Linked DNA regions of Homo sapiens: region 2 is linked to region 1. The links are contacts of gene promoters, found by promoter capture Hi-C in human tissues and cell types (Jung and others, 2019). All regions are on one chromosome and are shown on one strand. The core of a region is centred on a gene start or on the middle of the fragment in contact, and the rest is flanking DNA. Distances in the headings are between cores, read along the strand shown.

Region 1 (5,142 bases), core at 1,524-4,023:
AAAGAATGACAGTCTTTGCAATTTCTACACCTTATTATAGAATACTGATTGCCTGTTTCTGGAGAACAATCTTCTAAAACCAGAACTAGACAACTTAAAGACGGAATGATTCATTTTACTTTAGAGTATATGGATATATAAACAAAAATAAAATGGTAGCCTTATTCACATAATAGTCTTTGCTAATAAATACTTTGCTGGTCCTAAAAATAGAAACTTTCTTTTGTCTATTATAGTACTGTTTTAAATAAAATGTACTTAAATACCTTTCCAAGTTCAGGTTAAAGAAGTTGACAAAATTTTTTTTAACAGTATGCAACACTAAGGGACAGTATCTCTTGATCTAGATATAAAAACACTATATGATCACCAAAGCCTATTTTAAGAACTTACCAGTTTACAAATAGCTGAATTAAGTCTGTTAATTGTCATACGTAATATGTCTATGTTACAATTATAGTGCATTAAGCAATTGAAAAAAATGTAAGGCCAAATTCCAATAAAAATATCCTCTGCACTATCCTCATTTGTGCATGAAAATAACAGAAGTGAGTGGACACTTAAAATTTTAAATGTCAATTTTTCCAAGTTGATTTCATTTATGTATGAAAAAATTTACACTACTTTAATAGTATCTTATTAAATCTATTTACACATGAAACTCTGCTATACATAAAATTAAACATCTCAGAGCATCTTCCAGCCTGCAAATAATTTACATCAATGGACCCTATAATTCCTACTTTTGTCAAAGTGAAAACACCTCCTATATTTGAAAAGAAGTGTGGAGAACCAAGCTGTACTATAAAACGTCAATGAGACATTCTAGACTCTAGAAATCTAGAGCACCAAAACTAGGCCTCTTCAGGGCTCTGGCAGTTTAATTTCCTGCAAAGCTTCTAGGCCCCAAATAATGCAACTTAGGCCACCACAGCTTTTGGTGAGGGACTGATATGACTACAAACTGCTAAATAGCAAACTACTGAGGAAAGACCACAGACTAGCTGAGCAGCACAAGGAGTTAGTGAACTAACTCTATGTTCCATAAACTTTCCAGGTGGGCGCGGTGGGCCACGCCTGTAATCCCAGCACTTTGGGAGGACAAGGCGGGCGGATCGCTTGAGCTCAGTAGTTTGAGACCAGCCTGGGCAACACGATGAAACCTGTCTCTACAAAAATTAGCTGGGCATGGTGGCCCATGCCTGTAGTCTCAGCTACTAGGGAGCCTGGGGTGGGAGGATCGCTAGAGCCGAGATCGCGCCACTGCACTCCAGCCTGGGTGACAAAGTGAGTCCTTGTCTCAAAAAAAAAAAAAAAAAAAAAAAAACTTTGAAAGAAGCAACTTCATTAGGTGAAGACCGGAAGTGAACAGCTAGCCGTGTGCATCGTTGTATTAGGCACTTTTACACTGGGCATGCAATAATTTTAAATGCTCATTTGTAGTTAACTCTAAAAAGCCTATTTTGGCATCACAGTTCCTTTCTGTTCTGCTTTTACTAATATCAAACTAATATGCATTCTTTGGCTGAACTACAAGAATAAAACACTATAAAGAGGTTAACTCACAACTAAATGCTTAGAGAGCGCACAGTGGCGAAAATCTGTCTACAGGTCATATAGATAGATAGATAACTGATAGTTGATGGTATTTTTATAAATATTTCAGAGATAACAGAAACTAAGTTACTTTTTTTTCAAGTTAGAAAAGGAGGATTCTAATTAAAAAATCTGGGTCACTCAACTGGATATCATTAGCAACGACAAAATAAAAATGATCTCTCTCACCTCTCAGCTTGGAGATACAGACCATTTACTGGGCTGCTTCCTGACCCCTGTCTGCAACCCCACCTAAAGGACTGCCCACGCCAAAGGCAGACGCGAATCCGCTCAACACAAGTTGACCAAGTTTTTCGCCTGGCTAAGCGGCAGGGGCGTCCCCTCCTCCCTGCGCCACCTCCCCACCGACTGGCTTCCCCTGACATTTCTCATGCGCCCCACCCTGGGCAGTTTGCTTTGACATTTCAGTGCCTCATTGCTCAAGCTACCAGCACGGGCGTAGCCGACGCCGGGAGAGCCCACAGAGTGCGAGCTCCATGGTGCCTGTCACCAGCCCCCGCCAAGGGTCATAAAGCCTGGCAGGAGCCGCGGCGAACCCGGGAGCGGCGGCGTCGCGGGCAGGCTGCAGGCGGCCGCCGCACACGCACCACGCCTTGTTGACATGTTTGGAAGCAGGCACGGCGGGGAAACGCCCCCAAGCAAGCTCCAAGGTCTGGGTGCCGCGCCCCGCGCCCCGCCCGGCACTCCTGAGGAGCGGCCCGCGCGCGCCCCGGCCCCCGCGCCCCCCCCCACCCCACCCCACCCCGGCCCGCCCACAGACGGTCCGCGGTCCCTCCCCGGCTCCGCCGTCGCAGCGGGGCTCGGCCCTGCCCCTCCGCCGTTACCTGCTGCCGGGGGCGGCTTCCCCCACACACCACCCCGTGCTCCGGGGACGGCGGCGGCTGCAGGTCCCGCGGCTCTCACATGAGGCGCCCCTGGCCCCCCGCTTCGCGCTCCCGCAGCCGCGGCCCCCCGCGCTCCGCCCGCATCCGAGGCGCTGGTCCCGCGGAGGGCGCCAACGCGGCTCCACCTTTGCGGCTCTGGCTGCCCAGAAAGAAGCTTTCCTTCTCAGTCCCGCGCTGTCTGTGTTCAGGGATCCCCGGCGCCGCGAGAGACTACCTCAGCGAGCGGCTGCCACCGCGTAAGCTTCCTGCACCTGGGCCACAAACAGCGAGTCTAAAATGGCGCCCAGGGCTCGCGGCCGCGCGCTTCCCTGGCGCGTCCCCGCCCAAGGGGGCGGGAAGGGGGCGGGGGGGGGGCGGAGCCCGGCGGGAGTAGGGCCGCGCCCAAGCGGGAGCGCGCGCTGCGGCCGCCCCAGTCTCCTTGCTGTGGGACGAGCCTCTGCCTTCCTGCCAGAGATGTGACTCCCGCTTGAAGGGGATTTTTTTTGTTGTTTTGAGATGGAATGTGGGAGGGCTGAAGCTAGCTATATGTGGAAGAGACTATCTGTGGCTGAAACTGGAAGGTTTAGGGAGGTGGAGCAGAAAAAAGAAAGGAAGGAGTCTCGCCGGAGCCTGCTGGGGACCGCGGCCCGCGGGTGGCCGCCCCGGATGCCTGAAACCGAGGAGTTAAATACAGTCTCCGAAGACCCGCGCATCGATGTGCATAAGTGGTGCTTAAAAGATGCCAAGGAAATGTACCAGAATAGTGAGAGTATTAACGCTGGGATTGCACATGGTTTTTGTTTTTCAAATATTTGTATTTCCCAATATTTCTAAAGTGGCTTTTATCATTAGAGTTATTACATTTTAAAAACGACATTTGCTTTATGAAATAGAGTCCTGAAATTTGTAAATAGCTTTTGAAACGCAATGGGGAAAGTAAAGGATTACAAAGCTGCTGAAAAGAAAACCTCTGGTGAATCCTTTTGTAAATCAAGGCATCTTTGTAACTGCTACCTAGTTGACTTGTTTTAAAGTTTGGATTTTTTGATACTGCGTTTTCTTACAGTTAGAAACATTCTTAGGTGCAATATCATTAAGTTGAATCATGCGCCATTCCTCTCTACACCTCCAAAAAAAAAGAGAGAAAGTAGTTTTCCATTCAAAGATGTCTTAGAACACTCAGACCCATGTATAAGACACTGAAAAGCAGTGGTGCCCAGGGAGCTCTCCGTTCTTCCCGTTTTCTCAAGAAATTGAGCTAGGAAGCCATGTATAAAGTTACGTCGAAGTTCAGTGTGAGGCCAGGAGTGGTACAGGCTTATGTCTGTAATCCCAACATTTTGGGAAGCCAAGGCAGAAGGGTTGCTTGTGGTCAAGAATTGGAGACCAGCCTGCGCAATATGTCCAGACTCTTGTCTCTACAAAAAAATAGAAGAGTAATAATTTTAAAAAATCAGACGAGCTTGGTGTAATCCCGGCTACTACTCAGGAGGCTGAATCGAGAGGATGGCTGGAGCCCAGGAGTAGGAGGTTACAGTGACCTATGATGTCACCACTGCACTTCAGTCTGGGTGAGAGAGTGAGACTGTTTCTATAATAAAATGAATTCAATGTGGGGAAATGCCAGTGTTGTTTGTTCGGTGTTTTTTAAGGGCCTGTCAGCTGTCAGATCACTGAATCAAACTGTACAAAGCCTCTAGTAGCATAAGAGTGTGGATTTGCCTGAGCTGCAACATTTGTTTAGGTCCCTCAGTGACTGGATGATGAGGAACAATAGGAAGTTCTAAGAAGGACAATGATAATTATTAAGGAAAAACAAATAAGTCAAATACAGGCCCATTTATTTAAAGTTGGGTGAACAGTATAAATGATCAGCAAAATACATTAAACCAATTCAGTAAACATGATGAGCATAGGTTGCATTACGTTAATATTGTATCACATTACGGTTATATCACATTCCAATCATAGTTCTTTTTTTTCTTTTTTCGCCATTATGATCTATTCTCCTCCTAAACAAGACAAGGACCTTGGCACACTTGACCTATTGAATACCCCTTTTCTTCCCTGTTATTGGCAAATATTTTATTTCACCTCATTTTTTTTGAAAAAAAACGTTTATTTTTTAATCAGTCAGTACTTATTTACATTTATCAATTGTATCATCAAGATCAGTGGCATGGTAGGTGGGAGAAAGGATGAGTGTGGAGCACATTGATCCAACTGGGAAAAATAATTTATTACTGACCCTGTTTGGAATTGCCAATGCATGTGGTAATAAAAAGCAGATGAACAATTAGTCTCTTTATTATTGTTTTAAATTATCCACAGACAATGTACCCCCTCCACCACGTAGAATGGTGTAGACTATTCCCACACCACCCCAGCCTTGGTACACCAATGATCAGGATAGATTAGATTATGTTGCAGTAGTTCCTTAAATACCATCTTGTAATTCCTCGTTTTTGATGACCTTTACAGTTTTTAGGAGTACTGCTTTAGTATTTTTGTAGAACGTCCCTCAATTGGGGTTTGTCTTAGGTTTTTTTCTTATAATTACATGGGGACTATGGATGTTTTAGAAGGAAAACTACAGAGGTATAAAGTACCATTCTCATCACATCATATCAAGGGTACATCTATTAATACGACTTATCCTTGT
Region 2 (5,142 bases), core at 1,929-4,428, 560 kb after region 1:
TGATTTCAAAATCCATGCAGAGGATCCTTCCCCTCCCCGACCACTCACCTTTGTGACCTTCTCCCCGATGATCTTGTTCTTCCCACTACTGCAGCCATTGATAGATCTTGCCCTGTAAATAACCACATACCCTACAAAATTACAAGACTTCTACTTCAAAGCTTTCCCTCTCTGGCTCCCGCTTTCTCTCTGTCCAGCTCACTCCCTTCAGTCCTTTGATTCCAGGAATTCCTCAGCCCCATCACAATCACCAGTCCATTAATTCTACCAGTTTTTTCACAGTCCCCACTACTCATATTCTCATTTCCCTCCATGCCCATCTCAAACTCCACAGCCCCCATTGTAACCCCTTCCTTGAAGACCCCTTCCACTCCCTTGCCATCATTCTCTTTGTTGCACTCACTTGGCTGAATTGTAAACGTGGCTAATGGTAAATCCAACTCTCAGTCTATTCTGTTCCTCCTCCCCAACCAGTTGAATATGGCAAGAGGAAACAATGCCAAATAACCTGATTTTAAGCCCATGAGTACTAACCTCAACTGAGCCATTGGTATGGCCCAAGGATCCTTCAAGAGACAGCACAGCATTTGGAGGGTTTATGCAGCCAGACTTTCCCTTTCAGATTCCCAGCTCTGCCCCTTATGAGCTGCATCATCATGAGATATTTATCTTTATGTTCTGTGCTTCAGTGTTTTAATCTGTAAAATGGGAAGAAGAATAATACTTATGTCTGGGATTGCAGTGAGGATTTCATTAGTTAATATATGTAAAGTGCTTAGAAAAGTTTCTGGCACATAATGACCCCATATAATAGTACATCATCATCATCACCATCTTACTACGTTTCCTGGGTCCACTTACTCTTCTGCTTGCCTAGAAAACCATTTCACACATTTTCTCCGCCTCTTTCTTTCTCACACAGTCCTAATCCCTACTCAACCTCCTCACTTTGAATCAATGATCTTGATTGTTATTTTACTGAGAAAATAGAAGTAAACAAAAGAGAACCTTCCTCACTCTGAGTCAATGAACGTACCCCAGCTATACTCATCTAGTTCTTTCCCTCTTGCTGCTGTGAATGAGCCCTCTGTACTTCCATCTAAGATCAACCACCACCCTGTGCCTTAGGTCCCATCAATTCTCAAAGTCATCTGTCTAGTGATTTCCCCCTCTCTCTCCTGCATCAATGATTCACTGGATCATTCCCATCATCATACCTACATGCTGTAGTAACCTTCCTCGATCCATCAGCCTCGAAGTAGCTACCCATTTCTGTCTTCCTACTTTACTGCCAAACTGCCTCAATGCCTCTATCTCCTTGCTTCCCCATTTTTTCCTAAATCCACTCGTATGATTTTTTTTTCTTTTCCCACCATCGTTCCATCAAAACTGCTCTTATCAGGGTGACCAAAGACCACTCTGTTGGCCAAACCATGGTAATTTCCCAGTCCTTGTTTTTATTTGATTAACAGTAGCATCTGAAATGGCCAAGTACTCTTTCCTTGAAACTTTTCTCGCTTGGCTTCTGGGATGCCACGCCCTTCTATTACTCTTGTTTCCTTCTTGGCCACTCCTCCTGATTCTTTTGCTGTTTTCATCTCATATTCTTGACCTCTAAATATTGCAGGGCCTGAAGGTCCAACCCCTGGCCCTCTTTTTGTCTCTACTTACACTGACTCCCTTAGTGATCTCTGCCAGTTTAAAGCATTAAATACCATCTCTAAGCTAATGATGGCTGTATTTATATGCTTTTTCTCCAGATAGCCTCATGGCTTACTCTATTACTTCCTGCAGGTCTTGGTTCAAATTTCACCTGACAGAGAGACCTTCCCAGTCCATTCTAAATAAAATAATCTTCCCATTCCATCAGTCTATATCTCCTTATTCTGTTTTATTATTATTATTATTTGCACAGCACTTTTCTTCTTCTGACATATATTTATTTGTATATTGAAAGCCTTTGAGAACAAGGACATTACCCAGCTCACAGAGAGCCTTCCTTGCACATAGAAAGCTACCAATAAATGTTTGTTGAGTAAAAACACAATCTCATTCAGTCCTGACAATACCCCAACAATCCTATTAGAAAGATTATTACAGATGAAGAAACAGAATCAAGTTAACCTGTTACCACACAGCTGGCAATTCAGGCAGCCTGACTCTAGCCCACATGCCTATCTACCATTGCTACAGAAGCCAGAAGGGTACACAGGATCAGAGGGTTCTTTTACCAGGTACAGAGTTTATGTTGAGGACAAATAGAGAACTGCTGGGGTGGTAGTGGTGGGGAACACAGGGGAGTGACATACTCTTAGTAAGGTGCTGACTCCATCCAAAATGTGCACATAATTGCCCATCTCCAGTTCCTACCTCATTAAGTCCTGCCAACTCAGAGACTGCTGTGGTGCTTCATTGGAAAGTTTAGGCTGACGGTAGATTGTATATATGCTTTGTCAGCATCAAAGTGGCCTGTGCTGACAATATTTAAGTCAGATTTAGTTAAGAGCTTCAAATCAATGCTACCTTGAGGTCTCTGAAATTAAAGCCTTTTCTTGCTGTTTCCATAGCAGCCTGATAGTTGACATAATCCCCAAAGAAGCTTATATATTAATACCCAAGGACCATTTACAGTTCTCATGCACTGCTGACCTGAAATGCCATGACTAGAGCTAGATATACTAGCAAAATATTGAGTTATTTAAAGAACATAGTATAGTCCAAACTATAGTGAAAGAGGATTGGGTTTTCAAGAACCTGATTAAATAAACTTTAAAAATACACATATTTTCAATATTTGACTTCTTTAAAGTTTAGTGCTCCATGGATTCTGACCTTTCAGGTACCTCACACATGGGGGTTGTAAGATGCAAAGGATATTTTTATGTAGGCAATAAATGCATTCAGTTAATAGATGCTAAAATTTACCATGTTTCCATGGTGAAATGAACTGCTGTTTTCTGTTTTAAAGGGAACCAGGTGTTCACCCTCCAATACCTCCAAAGCCCAGTTCTCCTGTTTCTTCTCCTAACCAGCTGAGACAGGATAATAGGTAAGACCTAGTACTCCAGAATTTCTTGACAAAATGAAGTTCAAGGGAAATGAAAGTAAATGGACTGTGACCCGCTGTGGGCAAAGCATGAATGTTTTGTGTGCACATTCCCTAAAGAAGCGCCTGTAGAACTTTTTCTAATTTTATTTCCCAACACATATGTTTATTTATGTTTGTCTTTGAATACTAATGGCTAACTTGTCTTAAGAAAATATGCCTTCAAGATAAAAATGGAACAATATTCATGTTCAGAAAGTGTTTGTACACAGACTTTTTATATATTTGCTCCTAATATACAAATATAAATACATATATGTATTTGACATGTATCACATATAATATACATATAAACCATATTAAAAATGTATTTTTTGTTCATGTTTGTTCCAAGTTAAGTTTCCCACTAAGAGATACAGATTCTGATGAACGATGTTCTTGAAACTTTGTGTTACCACTCAAATCCTTGCTTATGTTACAAATACCTTTGAGTAGTTCTTTAATCTTTTTTTACTGAAGGGATTTGTAATTTATTTCAAAACTATCACAAATTTTGAAAGATGTTCTAATTGACTTGTCTCTGAATCAGGAAAAATAGACTTGCTTCTCAGCTTTGAATCTCTGTCACTCTATAATTAATACTTGGAAACAAATTCAGAGATCTGAACTCTTCCCATGTGTTACATTTAAACTGTTTAATATATCTTGAACAATTTTTCAAGATGTACACCCCACATTTCCATTATTATTGTGAGATTAAAAAATAGTAACTCAACGGAGATTGACTACATTACATCTCCTTGATTGCCTACTGTTGCTTCTTTTGTATTTTTGCTCTTCGATGGTGATTTTTTTGACACCACGTAAGACACAATTATGAAACTATTCTTTAATAAGACACAACCATAGAACTACTTTTTAGTAGACACAATTATAGAAATATTCTTCATTAAGAGAGTAACTTCAGTTACAAAGTTTTGACTGGGCAGCAGGACCATGTAGCAATAGGTGTTAAAACTCCAGGTTTGAATTTCTGTTCAGTGAAACTGCACAGGATCTTTGAAATTTTGTCCATAGGATGAGAGCATAATTTTTTAAATTGAGTCAAGAGAATATTTCTTCACTGAACTAATTAAAAATATAGATCAGATTTATAACTTTTTGTTTGTATGATGGTTATAATGATCTCTTAAAAATATCTTCTCAAGCTTTTTAATCTTACATTATTTTTCCTCTAACTCTTCTAGTATTGAGCAATTAAATCCCAATTTGAATAGAATTGTTTTAAGGGGCTAAAATTAATTGGCCTTAGTACCACCGATATTCTAATCTAAAATCAGCATCACTAGAGCTACAAGCTTGTTTAAATTTAAAGGAAGCTAAATTTCACAGGAACTTACTACTCAAATTTCTTTATTCTACCAATGATCTAAAAAATAAAATTGGGACAACTTGCATGTTTTTTTAAAGTCCTGACTACTTTAATCACAGCAAGATGATTTTAATGAAAGAATATGAAATGGAAGTGTTTCCTATGTAATTAACACATGTCCTCAGGAGTACAAAAAATAGTCGAATATAGCTTCTTGAGAACAAGTAGGAATGTATAAGTAGGTCAACCAGATACTTTAAAAAAGAGTAGAGAAAAGTCTTAAATTGTGCCAGAACCTAACATAATAAAATTTAATTCTGTCAGCTTAGTATGGTCATTCCCAATGTAGTAGGTGTACTTGAAACATAGACTCTTCTTCCCACCTTTTATGAACAAATATATTTCTTGATAGTATTCAAATGGGATAATTCTTTAAGAAAAAAATCCCTTTGATGCCCATAACAAAAATTAATATTTTAAAATGTTATATCATTATCTGATAGAGATAAGTATGAAAATGCTTTATTGATGGAGAACAAAAAACAACATAAACATATTTAGAACTTATAAGTCTAGATAGATCCAGTGGTTTACAAATATGCGATAAAGATAGATTAAATTACAAACTCAGTATACTGGAGTTCCCGCCAACCCAAAGAATTTAAGTTTGTTATCTCAGGTAGTGTTATGGTTCCAACAAACACTGATCTTTTTGTACATAAAT

The links. The method cuts DNA at HindIII sites, captures the fragments that hold promoters and counts their contacts. A contact is called where the count stands out against the background at its distance.
Region 2: a fragment that was not itself captured here is called in contact with the fragment with the promoter of FBXL3 in region 1 in 1 of the 25 tissues and cell types used here (H1 embryonic stem cells).

What each region holds. Positions count from the first base shown.
Region 1 is chr13:77,024,386-77,029,527 of GRCh38, forward strand. It overlaps FBXL3 (F-box and leucine rich repeat protein 3), which reads right to left and starts at 2,774. Exons shown (of 5, transcript NM_012158.4): 1 at 2,442-2,774. RefSeq lists silencers at 2,315-2,374, 2,395-2,674, 2,845-2,894. The HindIII fragment of the contact is 16,155 bases long and covers 1,776-5,142 here.
Region 2 is chr13:77,586,176-77,591,317 of GRCh38, forward strand. It overlaps SCEL (sciellin), which reads left to right. Exons shown (of 33, transcript NM_144777.3): 10 at 2,969-3,049. Among named protein-coding and RNA genes, the nearest start is that of SCEL-AS1, 18 kb to the right of the region's middle. The HindIII fragment of the contact is 3,596 bases long and covers 1,381-4,976 here.